Linked DNA regions of Homo sapiens: all the other regions are linked to region 3. The links are contacts of gene promoters, found by promoter capture Hi-C in human tissues and cell types (Jung and others, 2019). All regions are on one chromosome and are shown on one strand. Each heading gives the region's core, a stretch centred on a gene start or on the middle of the fragment in contact. The rest is flanking DNA. Distances are from core to core; before and after follow the strand shown. Region 1 overlaps HEMGN (hemogen). Region 2 has its middle 33 kb from the start of FOXE1. Region 3 holds the start of NANS (N-acetylneuraminate synthase).

What was found. The method cuts DNA at HindIII sites, captures the fragments that hold promoters and counts their contacts. A contact is called where the count stands out against the background at its distance.
Region 1: a contact is called between a fragment that was not itself captured here and the fragment with the promoter of NANS in region 3, in 7 of the 25 tissues and cell types used here (adrenal gland, bladder, dorsolateral prefrontal cortex and 4 more).
Region 2: a fragment that was not itself captured here is called in contact with the fragment with the promoter of NANS in region 3 in 1 of the 25 tissues and cell types used here (hippocampus).

What each region holds. Positions count from the first base shown.
Region 1 is chr9:97,923,032-97,927,212 of GRCh38, reverse strand. HEMGN (hemogen) reads left to right here. Exons shown (of 4, transcript NM_197978.3): 4 at 1-422. Among named protein-coding and RNA genes, the nearest start is that of TRMO, 2.6 kb to the right of the region's middle. The HindIII fragment of the contact is 4,400 bases long and covers 1-3,710 here.
Region 2 is chr9:97,883,867-97,888,024 of GRCh38, reverse strand. No RefSeq gene overlaps it. Among named protein-coding and RNA genes, the nearest start is that of FOXE1, 33 kb to the right of the region's middle. The HindIII fragment of the contact is 3,353 bases long and covers 1-2,940 here.
Region 3 is chr9:98,055,175-98,059,480 of GRCh38, reverse strand. It overlaps NANS (N-acetylneuraminate synthase), which reads right to left and starts at 2,749. Exons shown (of 6, transcript NM_018946.4): 1 at 2,541-2,749. The coding sequence starts at 2,672. It also overlaps a transcript of TRIM14 not described here. RefSeq lists enhancers at 2,031-2,150, 3,191-3,240 and silencers at 2,401-2,570, 2,651-3,000. The HindIII fragment of the contact is 24,529 bases long and covers 1-4,306 here.

The DNA of each region.
Region 1 (4,181 bases), core at 261-2,760, 130 kb after region 3:
TATCATGCTAGAATGTGTGTGTGTGTGTGTGTGTGTGTGTGTGTATGTATGTATAGGTCGGGGAGAGGATAGTGGTGGGAACAGACAAATAAGGAAGCGGGGAGGACTGGATAATTGGTTTTCCCCCCTAAGAACATTTATTTACGTCTTAAGAGCAGATAAGTGACTAAGACTGAACACATACATTTTGTGGAGTATATAGTTTTCTTGTAAATGCTGTTCAATTATTAATGTAACAGTAGCATCAAAATTTTATTCAGGCTTTAGTTGACTCTTTTGGTCAGTTTTAACAATTCTCCTTAAAAGATATTTTGGAGTGATGAATGTAGTTTACTTTTGTATTTGAATTTTGATTTTCTATTTTTATTTTTTAAATATTGTATTTGTGCACAATGTACATTAAATCATTATTACATGCTTAACTGTGTGGATACCATCATGTTAAGAATTGCGGAGGTTAGAAGACCTATCTAACACCCCACGGTGGGGTTAATTTGGTTTCATGGGGAAATAAAACAGAAAACAAATAATCACAAAAGAAAATAGTAAGGGCTGGTGCCATTTGAATGGTAGATACAAACAGAGAATGCTCACTTTTTGCTGGAGTGACCTGAAAAAATTACACAGGCATGAAGCCTTGAAAGACGGAAAGTATTTGCATAGATGAGGATAGCAGCATTACTGTATGTGACAAAGAGAAGGGTGAGTTCAAAACATGTTCAAGAGAACTGCAGGCAAACTATGGTTAATGTAGAGTCCATATGAAATAGTAGTAGGCTTGCATGCTGAAAAGCTCATATTACTAGAGCATAGAATATTTTGCTTACCTAACCAAGAAATATATCACTTGTTAAAAATGGGGAATGAAGTCAGATTTTTGAACAATGGAATGGCAATTTCACTATTTTAGGAATATGGTAAATATGGTGATAATGGTAAAGATTAACTGAAAACGACAAGAGACCGGGGCAGGAATAGAAGCTGTTCTGGATGGGAAGATGTCTGAAAATCTACCCTGGTATTTTTTGTTTTCACTTTTCCTTCTGTTATTACAGAGGACTAAGGATATTTTTGCAAATAAAGTTTCATTCAGCAAGAACACACTTGCACAAGCTTTCCATATAGACACTGTGCTAGGTACTAGCTATATCAAAGAACAAGACAGGGTCACAGTCCCTCAGGCATTCATGGTATAATGAACATGAGAGAGCAGTGGTTCTTTCAACCCTTCTGGTACATTAGACTCACCTGGGAAGGTTTCAAAAATACATATATGTCCAGACTTCTCCCCCAGGGATTCAGATTCCCCCATCTAGCTGATGTACAGGCATAGGTATATTTATTTTTTAATTGTTTTATGCTTCAAATAATAGTTTTTGGAGGAATAATTTTAGAATTACAGAAAAGTTGTCATGATAGTACAAAAGTTACTATATACCTTTCGCCCAGTTTACACCAATGTTAACGTCTTACATAACCATGGGCCATTTGTCAAAACTAAGAAATCAGGATAGTTACACTACCATTAACTACAGACATTATTCCGTTTTCATGAATTTTTCCACTAATGTGCTTTGTCTGCTTCAGGGTCCAATCCAGGATATAGAATTGCATTTAGGATGTTTTTATTTTAAAAGCTCTCCTGACAATCCTAAAGTGGAGGTAGGGTTGAGAACCAATAGTACAGTGGGATGTTACAATATTGTTTCCCTCCTATCTGCCTACCCCCTTTTGTGTGTACATTAAATTTTTTACCATCAGGATGTATTCATTGCACAATTATTCATACCCCTATTATATTTATTACACAACATACTGAGGGCAGGGCAGCACAACCACATAATAGTTTCGTCTCTTTTTTTTTTTTTTTTTTTTGAGACGGAGTCTCACTCTGTCGCCCAGGCTGGAGTGCAGTGGCACCATCTCGGCTCACTGCAAGCTCCGCCTCCTGGGTTCACGACATTCTCCTGCCTCAGCCTCCCGACTAGCTGGGACTACAGGCGCCCGCCACCACGCTTGGCTATTTTTTTTTTTTTTTTGTATTTTTAGTAGACGGGGTTTCACCATGTTAGCCAGGATGGTCTCAATCTCCTGACCTCGTGATCCTCCTCGGCCTCCCAAAGTGCTGGGATTACAGGAGTGAGCCACCGCGCCCGGCCACAACCATATAATAGTTTCTTACCTCTCAATGACACTTCAACATTTATACTTTCACATAAACTATTTTATTTGATCTGTACAAAAGTATGTGAAATAGGCCAGGCGGTGATTATCACTCTCACTTAAAGATGAGGGAATAACATAGAGGGAAGGTACTCACCCAAAGTCACATCTGACTTCCTCAGTGCTTTTTTTTCTTCTTTGGAATGTGCTTCTGTCTCAATTTCACCTGCCAGAGTGGGCCAAAATTAGAGGAAAAAAAAGAGTAAACTGAAGTCTCAAGTTCTAACAGCGTTGCATTAAGATGGACCTTAAGAGATTTGCATACGTACAGTGCACAGGAGCACAAAGATGAGATGGGGAAGGAGAGGGAAAGAGGAATGCAGTACATTAGAGGAAGCAGAATTTCTCTCTCCACCTCTCGGGACCCTTTCTGCTTGCCCTCTTACATCACTCCCTGCATTCACACACCACTTCTGCTTTCTCACCATTCTTGTTTAAACATCACTGTGCATCTAAAATTCTTCTGGCGTTCTTCTTGGCTTAGAACCTTTAGGTGACAGAATTAAAGTTTTGCAAGAATCCTTCTAGCTTGACTTTGTGCTGCCCTCCTCTCATGTTAGGTTAGAAACCCATGAACCATATGATATTATAGCCAAAATGATGTGTGGGACGGTTCAAAGCTTTAGTTGATTCTCAAAGGGGTCCTTCACCCAAATGAGAGGTTAAGAATCACTCTACTGAGAAGTGTTTCTCAAAGTAGTACAAGCTGAAGACTACATAATTATTTAGGTCATTTCTTTAAGGCAGATTTCTAGGTCTTACATCTGGAGGAGAGGTTAAGTCTTATAAACTGCAAATAATCACATATAATTCCAGACAAGATAATAAGAACTTCAAATCATAGACTAAAAAATGTGCTGCATATTTAAGTTCCCGTTTTCAGTCAAGAGAAATTTTACCTATAAAAGAAGTAGCAATCTATTTCCCTAGTATATTCAAATCAGCTTTGCATTTCAGTACTTGTCACACTTGGTAATTACATATTTTTTTGTGTGATTAACAACGTCTACCATGCCCTCCAGGAGGGCAAATATCTCTTTAAATCTAGTCTTTCCACAGATAAAGCGGGACTATCATTTTTAGCAACACCACCATCTAGTGGCAAGCGCAGTAATTCTGGCCCAGTTTTATAAACACACACATACACACACACGCGCGCGCGCTATATATATATAAAACAATGATTTTCAAACTTGTTTCTCCAGCTGCACAGAGCTGTCCCTCCTAAAAAAAATGGCAGCCTTTTCCAAGTTGTCCTGTAAAAATGACCTGCCAAAAGACACTATATGAATTTGATCAGTTTTATCTTATTTTTTAAACCACAATCTTTAATTATTTGGCTCCTCCTGCTGGTTATTTTCTACCAGAAATCAATGACAAATGGACAGACATGGAAACATCTTTTCATGGTTGTTAGACTTTTCAATCTGTGACTCATATGCTTTTGAATATTTTATACTGCAGATGTTAACAGATAAAAAGATAAAAGATTTTAAAATTTCTCCCAGAAAGAGAATTATATACAGAGAAACTTACTAAAGGTGAGAGACAGCATTACAAGTGGGTAAAAGATAGGCTATCATTGCAAGGACAACTGGTCATTGCATGGGATTAAATGATTCTTGTTAGCTCTTAGCTTCTCAGAGCTGTCCAGAAACGACAATAATCCCCACAATGCACATGGCATGTTGACTCTTATAATTCCATTCTCACTTCAGTTCCGGTAAGGTGTGGAGCACAAGAAACAGTTCCCACTCCTTAACCCCTAGCACATAGTAGGGCTCCTTTATAACATCCACCACACTTGAAATAAGACTTATTTGGGGTTGTTTCTGACAAAGCATAACTTATATTATGGAAAAATTTCCCACCACCCAGGGATAATTTTTTTTTTTTTTTTTTTTTTTTTTTTTTTTTTTTTTTTGATACGAGGTCTCGCTCTGTCACCCAGGCTGGAG
Region 2 (4,158 bases), core at 15-2,514, 170 kb after region 3:
CCCAAAGTCTTTTGTGCTGCTGTGCCCCTAAGGGCTCTCACCTTCTGTCCTTCATTCAGGTGGTGCCCCACCCTGCTTGCTGCTCACTCCCCTCTCCCAGGTCCCTCCCCTCCCCTCAGCATTATGATTCTTCTCCTTTTTGTACAGAACAGTTCGCCTCTCCCAAAACTCTGCCCTAACCTGCACACCACCCTGATTTGGGAGTTCTCACAGCAGTTATGACTATAATGCACAATATTCTATACAAACCTAATTATTCCTTTCGTCATTCCTTTCATAGGTAGTATAGGAGCAAACCATTGTGTTACCTGGTGGTTACTTTAGAACACCCAAATGTTGTTTAGATATGAAAACATCTTAACAATTTTGTTGTTTTGAATATGAAACCTGGATTTGGGAAAGGCAAAAATCAAGAAAAGATGATTAGAGGATGGCCCGACGTAGTGACTCACGCCTGTAATCGCAGCACTTTGGGAGTCCGAGGCAGTCAGACCACTTGAGGTCAGGAGCTCAAGACCAGCCTAGCCAACGTGGAGAAACCCCACCTCTAGTAAAAACACTAAAAATTAGCCGGGTGTGGTGGTGCATGCCTGTAATCCCAGCTATTTTGGGGGGCTGAGGCAGGAGGATTGCTTGAACCCGGGAAGTGCAGGTTGTGGGGAGCCGAGATCGTGCCACTGCACTCCAGCCTGGGCAACAGAGCAAGTCCCTCTCTCTCTCTCTATGTATATATATATGCGTGTGTGTGTGTGTGTGTAGTTAGAGGAGACAAGATACCAGCATACTTTGGAAATATTATAGGTTCGATTCCAAACCACTGTAATAAAGCAAATATTTCAATAAAGCAAATCAAATAAATTTTTTGGTTTCCCAGTGCACATAAAAGTTGATGTGCAATAGCATTATGTCTAAAAAAAACTATAATTTAAAATGCTTTATTAAAAATGTTCAAAAGAATAAATCTGACCTACTATTTGATAGCAAAATAGGGTGACTATATAGTTAATAATAGCTGTACATTTTAAAATAACTTAGAGTGTAATTGGTTTGTTTGCAATTCAATGGGTAAATGCTTGAGGGGATGGATACCCCTTCTTCACAATGTGCTTATTTCATGTTGCATGCCCGTATCAAAATATCTCATGTAGCCCATAAATATGTACACCTACTATGTATCCACAAAAGTAAAAAATACTTCATTGCTAAAAAATGCTGGCACAGATACATGAAGTGAGCATATGCTGTTGAAAAATGGGCACTGATAGACTTGCTTGATGCAGGGTTGCCACAAACCTCCAATTTGTAAAAAATGAAATACCTGGCCGGGCGCGGTGGCTCACGCCTGTAATCCCAGCACTTTGGGAGGCCGAGGCGGGTGGATCATGAGGTCAGGAGATCGAGACCATCCTGGCTAACAAGGTGAAACCCCGTCTCTACTAAAAATACAAAAAATTAGCCGGGCGCGGTGGCGGGCGCCTGTAGTCCCAGCTACTCAGGAGGCTGAGGCAGGAGAATGGCGTGAACCCAGGAAGCGGAGCTTGCAGTGAGCCGAGATTGCGCCACTGCAGTCCGCAGTCCGGCCTGGGCGACAGAGTGAGACTCCGTCTCAAAAAAAAAAAAAAAAAATGAAATACCTGCAAAGCACAATAGAGTGAAGTTCAATAAAGCAAGGTTTACCTGTGTAAACCATAAGTATTTAAAGACAAGGCAGGTGACATTGTAACACATGGCAATAAGGAACAAATTTTTTTTTTTTTTTGAGGCAGGGTCTAGCCCTGTCACCCAGGCTGGAGTGTAGCGACACAATCTCAGCTCACTGCAACTTTCGCTTCCTGGGCTCAAGTGATTCTCCCACCTTAGCCTCCTGAGTAGCTGGGACTGCAGGCATGCACCACCATGCCTGGCTAATTTTTGTATTTTTTTTTTTTTTTGGTAGAGACAAGGGCTCCTTATATTGCCCAGCTGGTCTTGAACTTCTGGGCTCAAGCAATCCTCCCCACCCACGTGCTGAGCCACTGTGCCCAGCCTAGGAGCAATGATTATTAGGAACTTAACTAAGTATGGTAGAAAGCACCAAGAGTTAAAAAAATATTTTGGTGACACAAAAGAAACTTTACTAATGTGGGCATAAAATATTCGAGTAATTTTACATAAGCATTACATAATGATGTATAATAAAGGATTTACTGATATCCTTTTATACCTAGATATATGCTGTTATATAAAAATACAAATGACTACTAAATCTAAAGCTTATGTCTATCGCTTTGAAACACAAAGTATCAGTATATTAAATAAAACAAGATATGTGTATATTTACTAGCTGAATAAACTGAAACAACTTTTAAAAATAAACATTAATCATATCCATTATATTGCATACATGTTTGTATTTATCTATAATTATTATTCTTAGAATAGTCAACCAATTACAGTAATTATCATCTTTAACCCAAGTACAGTCATAACCTAAGTATGTTTATGTCAGTAATGGGCTGCAATATATGGTGGTGGTCCCATGAGATTATAATGGAGCTGAAAAATTCCTATCGCCTAGCAAGATCCAGCCGTCGTATCATCATAGCACAATGCACTACTCATGTGTTTGGGGTGATGCTGGTATAAACAAACCTAATGCACTGCCAGTCTTATAAAAGTATAGCATATACACGATGTATAGTACATAATACTTGATAATAAATGACTATGGGCTGGGTACAATGGCTCATGTCTGTAATCCCAGCACTTCAAAAGGCTGAGATGGGGTATGGCTTGAGTTTGAAACCAGCCTGGGCAACATGGTGAAAACTCATCTGTACATTTCTATAAGAAATACAAAAATTAGCCAGTCATGGTGATGTGTGCCTGTAGTCCCAGGTACTCGGGAGGCTGAGGTGGGAGGATGGCTTGAGCCTGGGAGGTGGAGGTTGCAGTGAGCCGAGATCCCACCACTGCACTCCAGCCTGGGCAACAGAGCCAGACTCTGTTTCAACTTAAAAAATAACAACAACAATAACAAACAACTATGTTACTGATTTATGTATTTATTATACCATACTTTTAATCATTATTTTAGAGCATACTCTTTCTACTTATGTAAAAAGAAGTAAAATAGCCTCAGGTAGATCCTCCAGGAGGCGTTCTAGAAGAAGGCATTGTTATCATAGGAGAGGACAGCTCCGTGTGTGTTATTGTCCCTGAAAACCTTCCAGTGGAACAAAATATGGAGGTGAAAGACAATGATATGGATGACATGGTGAAACCCCGTCTTTACTAAAAATACAAAAATTAGCTGGGCATGGTGGCACATGCCTGTAATCCCAGCTACTTGGGAGGCTGAGGCAGGAGAATTGCTTGAGCCCGGGAGGCAGAGGTTGCAGTGAGCCGAACTTGTGCCACTGCACTCCAGCCTGGCTGACAGAGCGAGACTCTGTCTCAAAAAAAAAAAAAAAAAAAATTGAGATATAATTCACATACTATAAAATTCACCGTTTTAGTACACTTTGATGGCTTAATTATTTTTTTAAGAAATGGGGTCTCACTCTGTTGCCCAAGCTGGGGTGCAGTAGTGCAATCATAGCTTACTGCAGCCTTGAAATCCTGGGCTCAAGCAATCCTACCACCTAAGCTTCCCAAGTAGCTGCGACTATAGGTGTGTACCACCACACTGACTAATGTTTAAAAATTGTAGAGACAGGATCTCACTATGTTGCTCAGGCTAGTCTTGAACTCTTGGCTTCAAGCGATCCTCCCACCTAGGCCTCCCAAAGCGCAGAGATTATAGGTGTGAGCCACTGTGCCTGGCCTAAAGTGTACAATTAGGTGTTTTTTAGGATAGTTTCAGAGTTCTACAATCATCACCACTATCTAATTCCAGAACATTTCATAATTCCTTGAGGAAATCCTGTGTAACCATTATCAGTCACTTCTTATTTCACCCTCCCCCTAAGTCCCTAATAACTACTAATCTTTCTTTCTCTGTGGATTTGGCTATTTTGGATATTTCGTATAAATGGAATTAGATTATATGTGGCCTTTCGTGTCTGGTTCCTTTCACTTAACCTAATGTTTTCAATTTTTTTTCATGTTGTAATATGTATCAGTACTTCATTCCTTTTTATGGCTAAATGATATTCCGTCATATAAATATACCACATT
Region 3 (4,306 bases), core at 1,500-3,999:
ATGGTGCCACTGCACTCCAGCCTGAGCAACAGAGTGAGACCTTGACTCAAACAAAAACAATCTACTCAAGAAAAAGAGTAATTAAAACCCACTAAAGTCCCATCTCACGGCCATTTCTGTAGACACAGAGGTATTCATGCTATTAAAAACTTCTTGGCTGCCGGGCGCAGTGGCTCACACCTGTAATCCCAGCACTCTGGGAGGCCGAGGTGGGCAGATCACGAGGTCAGGAGATCGAGACCATCCTGGCTAACATGGTGAAACCCCGTCTCTACTAAAAATACAAAAAATTAGCTAGGTGTGGTGGTGGGCACCTGTAATCCCAGCTACTCGGGAGGCTGAGACAGGAGAACGGTGTGAACCCAGGAGGCGGAGCTTGCAGTAAGCCGAGATCACGCCACTGCACTCCAGCCTGGGTGACACAGCGAGACTCCGTCTTGAAAAAAAAAAATAAAAACTTCTTGGGTCCAGAAATGTCAGTGCTGAGATCACTACTCCTGCTCTTAGACAAATCATAAGATGGTAGAGTCAGGACTTGATGCTGGAAAGTTCAAAGAACATTAGAACTGAAAGTGACCTTGGGCAACAGAGCTCTCATTGTCTAGATGAAGATCCCAAGGCCCAGACTGACCTGACTAAAGTTGCACAGTGTCTCTAGCAGAGCTGGCCAGATCCCTTTCCTAAAGGCTGCAGCCACCTAGATTCCAGCTCAATGGAATTAGAGACAGGGTCTCGCTATGTGGCCCAGGCTGGTCTCGAATTCCTGAGCTCAAGCAATCTGCCTTCCTCAGCCTCCCAAAGTGATGGGATTACAGGAATCAGCCACTGCACCTGGTCAGTACAGCTTTGTTTCTATGGCTTCAGTATCTCTAGATATTTCTACAACTTCGGCATTCCAAGAGGAAAAACAGACTGCTCCTTCAAATTAAGAGTGGGAATTTCCCTCTAGAAAACAATGTTGCAGAAGAAAGGCTGGAGTCCTGTGGCTTAGGAGCAAAAACTGAAAAAACCCCTTACTGTATTTATTATACTAGCTATGTGACCTTGCCTAAGTCACTTATTTTCTCTTAGCCTTTAAAATGAAATCGGCAGCATCATGGCATTGGGTTGTTGTAAAAATTAAATGAGATGGTGCATGTACAGCATTTAGCTTAGTACCTGGTAGAGTAAGCACTCAAAAAATGTTAGCAATGTTATTTTTGTAAAGTATTTTTATGATTCAGTGATTAGGTTTCCATAAAACCAGTCCCGAAGGAACAGCAAGGGCCGAGGGTGGTGGCTCACACCTGTAATCCCAGCACTTTCGGAGGCCAAGGTGGGCAGATTGCTTGAGCTCAGGAGTTCGAGACCAGCCTGGGTAACATGGCCAAACCCCATCTCTACAAAAAAATTAGCCCAGCATGGTGGTTCACGCCTGTGGGTCCCAGCTACTCGGGAGGCTGAGGTGGGAGAATCACTTAAGCCTGGGAGGCAGAGGTTGCAGTGAGCCGGGATCATGCCACTGCACTCCAGCCTGGGTGATACAGAGACCCTGTCTCAAAAAAAAAAAAAAAAAAAACCAGGAAAAAAAAAAAAAAACAGTAAGAGAAAACCTCCAGCCTGGGTGACAGAGCAAGACCCTGTCTCTAACATAGATAAATAAATAAATAAACATTTAAAAAACCTATCACAAATGATACAAAATCAGTTGAGTAGCATTGATGAAGGGAAAGGAAAGATGGGGTGAGCTATCTCTAAACCAAAGAATCATAGTGCAGGCCAGGCCTTATGCTGGGGGCTGGGGTCGTAATGAAGAATATGGCAGTCCCAACAGAAGAGGGAGCACGCATTTACCGACTCATGTGTGCCAAGTGCTGGGCTCAGAGCTCTATCTGAGAATCTCATTTGATCCCCATAACAACTCCATGTGGAAAGAACTGTTGTTTTCAAGCCCCGTTTTCAAATGGGGAAAAGGGTTCACGGAGGCTAAGTAAGCAGCCCATGTTCACACAGCTAGTAGTGGTGGAACTGAGATTTGAACTCAAAGGCCCGGCTTTTAACCACTTCATATTTCATATACAGGGAATGGCGGGTGAGAGAGACCACAGCAACTTCCAGGAACTGTCATTCCTGAAAGTAACTCTGTGTCGCTGAAGAATGTCAGAGAAGAATTATGACGGGCTGGAAGGGGCCCAGTCATTAAAATCTTGAAGGCTATGTTAAAGGGTTTCGACTCTACCCGCGGGCAGGAGGGAGCCACAGAAGGTGCCAGGCAGGGGGGATGGTCTGATCAAGTCTGACTTTTAGAAAGATTATTCTGGCACCAGAACGGGGAGGAAACAGGTCGGGTTAGGAGGCAGCTGCTGTAATGCAGAAAGGTCACGAGGGTGGCGGACACGGTGAGGAAGAGGGATCCGAAGGATTCCGAAAACGGAACTGGCGGGCGGGAAGAGGCCGGACCAGGGTACCCAGCCGCGGAGGCCGTGTGGCCCTGGCTCCCCGCGGCCCCGCCCCGCCCCTCCCGGCGCCCGAATCCCGGGTCCCGGGAGCTGCCGCCTCACCTTGGCCATGCGGATCATGCGCTTGGCTACGTCCAGGTCGCCCTGGTGGTTCTGGCCGATCTCGGCAATGATGAAGCACGGGTGTTGCCCGCCCACCCAGCGCCCGGGACACAGCTCCAGCTCCAGCGGCATTGCAGCGGCTCGGGGTCCAAAGCCTCACTACCAGTCTGGGTCCGGCCGCCGCCGCCGCCGCCTCTACTCTGTTCTGTGAGCAACGCTGCGAGACCCACACGCCAGCCCCGCCACGTCAGCCCGCGGTCGCCGGGCAGCCAATCCCCTAGGCCCCGCCTCTCTCCCGACAGCCAATCGGGGCGGGGGGCGGGGGCGGGGCCTCCCGCGGGAAGGGCGGCGGGGCGGGTCGAGGAAGCTCCGCGGCCCTCTCCTGTGCGAGGCTTGAGGCTTGCTGTCCCAGAGCGTGGTCTCGGACCATCGCGGTATCCGTGCGTGCACCCAGGAGCAAGCATTCCCTGCAGGAGGCGGACGGCTGCCTGCGCAGGGCATAGTCTATGTCCTGCTCTCAGGAGCATGGGGAGAGCGCGCCCTATGGTGTAATGGAAAAAACAGGGTTGCTAGAGTTAGAATCACAGAGCTGGATCGAGTCCAGCCTATGCCAGTCACCAGCTCCTGCTCATATATACGTTACTCAGTCTTCCGGAGCGTTATTTTTGTTTCTCTCTGAAGCAAAAAAATAAAATAGAACTGTGAGATGACGTATAGAAACCCCTGATCACAATACTTGGCTTGTAGTAAGTTTTCAAGAAGTGGCGGAGGTTCCTATTATATGAGAGGCAACAGGTTCGAGAAGTTGCACTGGCTTGTCCAAAGCCATCCAGAAAGCCAAAGCAGAGATGGGACTAGTACCCGGACCTCCCAGCCCCAGGCTCTTAAAATACAATCACCTGGGCGGGCGCGGTGGCTCACACCTGTAATCCCAGCACTTTGGGAGGCCAAGGCAGGCAGATCACCTGAGGTCAGGAGTTCGAGACCAGCCTGACCAATATGGAGAAACCCCGTCTCTACTAAAAATACAAAAAAATTAGCCGGGCGTGGTGGTGCGTGCCTGTAATCCCAGCTACTCGAGAGGCTGAGGCAGGAGAATCGCTTGAACCCGGGAGGTGGAGGTTGCAGTGAGCCCAGATCACACCACTGCACTCCAGCCTGGTGACACTGCAAGACTCTGTCTCAAAAATAAATAAATTAATTAATTAATTTAAAAAATAAGATAAGTTATTTCCCAAAATAAACCTCCTTCTTTCCTGGGAACTAGACTGCCTTTGTAGGACTAACAAATTAGCCACAAGATTAGACACGTAGGAGTCATGCACCTGGAGGCTACAAGATTCTGACCCTCCCCAAATTGCTCCTGGGGATAACATCACTATTGTAAAACCTAAGACCAGTGCTTGAGATATTTTGCAGACCCTGCACTTGATGGATCAGCTGGCACCACCAGATTGATAAACTGGTTCATCTGATCTTGTGTCCCCCAACCAGGAACTGACTTGGCACAAGAAGACAGCCTTGACTTTCTATGATTTTATCTCCAACACAACCAATCAGCACTCCTGGCATACTGGCCTCTCTTAACCCACCACATTATCCTTAAAAACTCTGATCTCCAAGGTGGGGCATAGTGGCTCACACCTGTAATCCTAGCACTTTGGGAGGCTGAGGCGGGTGGATCACCTGAGGTCAGGAGTTCGAGACCAGCCTTGCCAACATGGTGAAACCCTGTCTCTACTAAAAATACAAAATGAGCCAGGTAT